Regions from separate parts of the Homo sapiens genome. Here region 2 is linked to region 1. The links are contacts of gene promoters, found by promoter capture Hi-C in blood cells and fetal thymus (Javierre and others, 2016). All regions are on one chromosome and are shown on one strand. The core of a region is centred on a gene start or on the middle of the fragment in contact, and the rest is flanking DNA. Distances in the headings are between cores, read along the strand shown.

What was found. Contacts are between HindIII fragments. The CHiCAGO score rates a contact against its expected background, and 5 or more counts as called.
Region 2: a fragment that was not itself captured here is called in contact with the fragment with the promoter of MANF in region 1 in 1 of 17 cell types (fetal thymus); the score reaches 6.6 in fetal thymus.

Annotation. Positions count from the first base shown.
Region 1 is chr3:51,383,834-51,386,925 of GRCh38, forward strand. MANF (mesencephalic astrocyte derived neurotrophic factor) reads left to right here and starts at 1,458. Exons shown (of 4, transcript NM_006010.6): 1 at 1,458-1,603; 2 at 2,375-2,502. The coding sequence starts at 1,510. DOCK3 (dedicator of cytokinesis 3) reads left to right here. Exons shown (of 53, transcript NM_004947.5): 53 at 1-365. RefSeq lists an enhancer at 874-1,223 and a silencer at 1,284-1,653. The HindIII fragment of the contact is 4,055 bases long and covers 1-3,092 here.
Region 2 is chr3:50,331,184-50,334,275 of GRCh38, forward strand. RASSF1 (Ras association domain family member 1) reads right to left here. Exons shown (of 6, transcript NM_007182.5): 3 at 867-971; 4 at 376-673; 5 at 151-266. Among named protein-coding and RNA genes, the nearest start is that of TUSC2, 4.5 kb to the left of the region's middle. The HindIII fragment of the contact is 3,617 bases long and covers 1-3,092 here.

The sequences.
Region 1 (3,092 bases), core at 208-2,707:
GCAAAAAATGTATAGAGTGTGATGTCCAATTGGTATTCAGCACTATAAATGTGTTTTTAACCTCCCGCATTCTGTGCTTATTTAAAACAAGGAAACTTCTAACCATTTCTTTTGTGTATTCATGTTTAAAGAAAAAAAGTGATTTAAAAATGATCTTACCTGTACCAGAAAAGCAAAGTTAAAGGAAACAAAATTTGTACCATTGTCCCAAGAGGTATTTTACTGTATATATTGTGGTAGCATGTTCAAAATCCAACAAGTAATGTGAATTTTAGATGTAAATATCTGCCACTTGATTTTTTTTCCCCCTTTCCCCACTTCCTTGACTGCTGTGATGTGAATTAAAGATAAATACGTGATACTGATCCACTGAATTCACTGAATGGGAGCAGAGGATGTGCCCCTCTCCAACCCTTGTCGCCGGGCTCCAAGCCCTTTTTAGCCCTATAGACATGTCCTTTTTGCACTGAGTAGAGCCAACGGTTCCCGCATCCTGCCTTGAAGGCAGGCAGCCAGGAGGGCACTTGAAAGGAGGGCAGTCGAAAAGGAAACATCCTCCAGTGCTTCTCTGGTGATTCCCGGGACCCCACTCAGGAGGTCCCACGGCAGCGGGGGACCCCGAGGGCCTAGCCGGGGAGGCAGGAGGAGGCTGGCCAGCCACCAAGCCACGATTCAGAGCTTGTAAGGGCACCTCCCGAGCCCCTCACCTTCCCACTCTGAGGCGACCCCATGTCCTCGACCGATGATCTGGCCCGGGCGCTTCCCTCCACGGTCTAGAGTGGCGGCCCAGCTTTGAGCTTGGCGCGCCTTGAGCCCTTCCTTCAGATGTCCCGCAGTCCGTCCACCCCGCACGTCTCCTATCAGCCTATGCACGGCGGGCTCCGGTCAGGTGGAGGATCAGCAGGTGGGCTTTCAAAGGTTGGATCCGTTGCCCACGCGAATGAAAGAAGAAAAAAGAAACCTCTTTGAGCCTTGCCTGCGGCCGCCCGCCCTTCCTGCCTAACCTGTTGTCTTGGCTGACCCCAGAACTCCTGCACCACGAGTCGGAGTCCGGGCGAGGAGATCAGCAGGGGTTTTCGAGGGAGCCTGGGGCCCAGGGCAGGGGTACGCGGGTCAACTCAACAGATGTAAGGCGTGGCCGAACCCCATTCAGCTAGCAGTACCCAGCCTCAGCCACAGTCGCTGCCCTTACCCAAGATGGCGGCCCACACCGCTTCCGTCGCTGCTGTAGTCGCTTCCTGCGGCCAGCCCGGGTTCAATCAGCGGCCGACAACTGTCTAGGGCTCAGACACCACCAGCCAATGAGGGAGGGCAGCGTGGAGCCGCCCGTCTGGGCTCGCGGCTCCTGGACCAATGGGGAAGTGGCATGTGGGAGGGCGCCGGGGGGCCCCCCGCCAATGGGGAGCTACGGCGCGCGGCCGGGACTTGGAGGCGGTGCGGCGCGGCGGGTGCGGTTCAGTCGGTCGGCGGCGGCAGCGGAGGAGGAGGAGGAGGAGGAGGATGAGGAGGATGAGGAGGATGTGGGCCACGCAGGGGCTGGCGGTGGCGCTGGCTCTGAGCGTGCTGCCGGGCAGCCGGGCGCTGCGGCCGGGCGACTGCGAAGGTGCGGGATAGGGGGCCGGGGGCCGCGCTCCGTGACCGTTCTGGCGGCGGCGCTGAACCCCACAACATCACCAGACGGCCGGGGCCAAGAGGGCGAGGGCGGGGGCGGGGGCGGGGGCGACAGCAGGTCCCCGCGGGGCCTGCATGAGGAGGCTCCGGCGCCCGCCCTAGTAAATCTTTCTTGGGCCTAGAAAACATTGGTCCGACGAAGAAAAGTTGAGACTAGATCCCGTTGAAAACTTGTCCTGAAATCTCCATCACTCCTGAGTTATTGTCCCCACCACCATCTAGAGGTTACCGCTCCCCGTTCGGCGTCGGGAGCTCCAGGGCTGGCCGTGGGTGCTGCGCCCTGTCTGTTGGGATCACGAAGCTGCACCTCTGGGTCCGCTGTTGTATTTGGAAATTAGCAGCAGCATTTTGATCATTTTTCTCTTCACCTTCCAGTCTCTCCATTTATGAGGTCACAGTGAGTCCCGTCTCAAGGACACGTGTTCACCATGGGCTTAAACTTGATGAAAGGAGCAGGGAGAAGTCGTTTATAGGTCATTGGGTGATGCTTGGTCCTTTGATGCCCTGGGTGTACCAGGGGACCCCCGCCACTTGGAACCGGGTTCTGTCTACCTGTAGACACCTGAGAAAAATCGGTGATGGAAAAGCTCACCTCTAATGATTCATCTCCGTGTCTCCTATTAAAATTGCTGGCGGAGTTCTTTTCTGGTGGATTGGAACAGCTTGGTGATTGCTGAGCATCTCCCGTCCCTCTCTTTTCCAGTTTGTATTTCTTATCTGGGAAGATTTTACCAGGACCTCAAAGACAGAGATGTCACATTCTCACCAGCCACTATTGAAAACGAACTTATAAAGTTCTGCCGGGAAGCAAGAGGCAAAGAGAATCGGTTGGTAAGTAGCTGGTGATCCTCCCCAACTGGCCCTGGCTCATGTTAACCCTCGGCTTCACCAGCCGTTTGATAAAAGGCCTTGCCCACCTCTCTGTTCAGGAAGCCAGCTACTCTCTCCATAAACTAATGTGAGAAGACTGAAGTGCTTCTATGTCCTTCCCAAAGCAGCATGTGTTCTGCAACTGTGATTTTTTTTTATCCTGTTAGTCTTTATTAAGCACCTACTATGTGCTAGGCACTGGGAATATCAGGGGAAAGAAGTGACAGTCGGACACACAAATAATGCAATGTCTGGGTGTCATGAAGAAAATGGACCAGCAGGTGCTGATTTAGAGTGGCCAAGAAGTCTCTGAGGAAGGGTTATCATTGAAGTGGGGTAAGACCATCCCATACAGGGAACAGCAGTGTGAGTGCCCAGAGGCCTGAAAGAGTGTGGCATGTATGTGGACAGGAGAAGGTGACAGGGTGCCTACAGGATAGGCAAGGGCCGAATCCAAGACAAAAGCCCTAGTGAAGCAATGGGTTTTCTAACTTGAATTTCTCTGACAGTCTCTGGCTTTTCTCTCTGTTAAAGGTTTGAACCCTGGTGAC
Region 2 (3,092 bases), core at 403-2,902, 1.1 Mb before region 1:
AGCCTTTGCTTTAGTTACAATGCCTATACACTCCTGGAACTGTTTTGCAGGGCTTGTCTTCCAGCACAATTCCTCCTCCAAGCCTTACTGTAGCTACAGCCCATCAGTCCTGTCTAGTGACAACCAAGAAACTAAGAACTATGTACTCACGTTCACCTCCCCAGAGTCATTTTCCTTCAGGACAAAGCTCAGGGCCTTGTCACTGGGCCCTGCCAGGAGCCGCAGCCGCAGGGGCTGCTCATCATCCAACAGCTTCCGCAAGTACACTGTGAAGGGGAAGTAATGATCAGAGACAGGGCCAGCTGCTCAGCCCCTGCATGCTCAGGTGCATGCGTATATACCCTCACATAGGGCAGGGTGGGGTGGGAAGCCCACCTTGGCCGTGACGCTCAGCGCGCTCAAAGAGTGCAAACTTGCGGGGGTCATCCACCACCAAGAACTTTCGCAGCAGGGCCTCAATGACTTCACGTGCCCTTGTGCGTGACAGCACATGCAGGTGCTTGACAGCATCCTTGGGCAGGTAAAAGGAAGTGCGGCGCCTGACACTTGTGCCCCGTCCTGGGCCCCGCCGGGCATCCTGCAAGGAGGGTGGCTTCTTGCTGGAGGGCACAGAGACAGGGCGCACCAGCTTCAGCTGAACCTTGATGAAGCCTGTGTAAGAACCGTCCTTGTTCTAAAGAAATAGAGAAACCAAACCTTGATAATAGGTTCCAGGTGAGATGTCAGTCTACTTGGGGCTAGGCTGGGTATGCACAAATTACTGCTTGCGCCCACCCAAGATAACCTCAGTTGTGACCCTCTGAGTATCAGGCACATAGCTGGGTACCTGCTCCTCCCCACGCCCCCTTCCTGAGCAGTCAACTCACCAAGCTCATGAAGAGGTTGCTGTTGATCTGGGCATTGTACTCCTTGATCTTCTGCTCAATCTCAGCTTGAGAAAGGTCAGGTGTCTCCCACTCCACAGGCTCGTCCTGCAAGATGGGCCAGCATGGACACAGGGCCCTTGAGGAACCCAGGGCTTCTCTGAAAAATGGCCTCTGGGGCAGTCTTTGGAAACTGACTGCCTTTGGCCCCCTGTCCCTGATGTACATATACATAGCTGGTGCCCACCCTGAACCCACCACTGCTCCTGGTTTTGCATGCTCTGGGTGGATAAGGGAAAGACAGAATCATTTGGCTTCTCTCTGCTGCCTGCCTAGGGCCTCAGCACTGAATGTAGCCTTAAGGATACCACAGAAGCAGGGGCAACTGAAGGCACATGGCCAGGGGCCAGGAACAGCTGAGGGACTCTGAAGAGGGACTCTCATTTAAAGTAAAATCAGGCTGGGTGTGGTGGCTCACATCTGCAATCCCAGCATTTTGGGAGGCTAAGGTAGGAGGATCACTTGATCCTCAGGAGTTTGAGACCAGCTTGGGCAACATAGCAAGACCTCATCTCTACTAAAAAAAGAAAAAAAAAAATTAGCCAGGTGTGGTGGTGTGCCTGTAGTCCCAACTGTTCAGGAGGCTGAGGTGGGAGGATCGTTTGAGCCCGGGAGATTGCAGCTACAGTAAGCTATTATCGTGTCACTGCACTCCAGCCTGGGGAACTGAGTGAGACCCTGCTTCAAAACACAAAAAACAAAAACAGGCTGGGCACGTTGGCTCACGCCTGTAATTCTAGCACTTTGGGAGGCCGAGGCGGGTGGATCACCTGAGGTCAGGAGTTTGAGACCAGCCTGACCAACATGGAGAAACCCCGTCTCTACTAAAAATACAAAATTAGCCAGGCGTGGTGGCACATGCCTGTAATCCCAGCTACTTAGGAGGCTGAGGCAGGAGAATTGCTCAAACTCGGGAGGTGGAGGTTGCAGTGAACTGAGATCGTGCCATCGCACTCCAGCCTGGGCAACAAGAGCGAAACTCGGTCTCAAAAAAAAAAAAAATCAGTAAAATCACACCTCAATTGCACATTCTGATCACAGCACCCTAGTTGAGTTGGAGTGAGGGTTTGTCCTGGAGAAGGCAGCCCATTTTTCTCCTCTGCCCCGGCACGGGGCCATGACCCACTGCAGGGTGAGAGGAGTGGAGAGTGGTGCACATCAGTAGTCCAGCCACCAGTGGACAGAGTAGTACTTGGAGCCAGTTCTCCATGTCTCACACATAGTGAGAAAAATCACTGTGACATGATGTTTAACCTTGACCCAAGCTGCATAAAAGGCAGCTTTAGGCCAGGCTCCAATCTGCCAGAGGTACACAGGCAGCTTCCTGGTGGGTTTCTGCACCTGCCTGTGCTGTCTGGAGATTTGGCCCAAAGATTTTTTTTTTTTTTGAGACGAAGCCTCACTCTGTCGCCCAGGCTGTAGTGCAGTGGCTGGATCTTGGCTCACTGCAAGTTCTGCCTCCTGGGTTCAAGCGATTCTCCTGCCTCAGACTCCCGAGTAGCTGGGACTACAGGCGCGTGCCACAACAACACCCGGCTAATTTTTGTATTTTTAGTAGAGATGGGATTTCACCACATTGGCCAGGTTGGTCTTGAACTCCTGACCTCAAGTGATCCGCCTGCCTTCACCTCCCAAAGTGCTGGGATTACAGGCGTGAACCATCGTACCCGACCCAGAGATTTTTAACTCGACCACTCACTCCCCACCTCATCTAGGGACTGGATTCTTGCCGGAAGGGTGGAGTGTGGGACAGGGCAGCCAGGGCTCTGAACCGACTTTCTTCTCCCAGACTCCCTTGGCCCCACTGCATCAGCCTTACTTCCTGTTGACGTCAGATAGGCCCTAGTTAGAATGCGAGTGTCACAGACACAGCTAAGCTCAGCGCTGACCAATACTTTGTCCCAGAAGAATTCCCACAAGGTTTCCTGTAGAATGATCTTGTGCCTAGCCCAGGAGAGCCAGGGTTCTCCCTGACTCCGCCCTGGAGTCCCCTTAAGCACTTAAACCATCTGATGGGGACAAATGGAGAGGACAGATGAGGGAGCAGGGTGGAGCGTTTTAGCAGAATGCTCCTTACCCAGAACCCGCTGCTATTCTGCAGCCAGCAAGGATGTGGGGCTAAGAACTAAGGCCAGGGCCTTACAGGAAAAAGGTAAAGGGGGAGGGGTG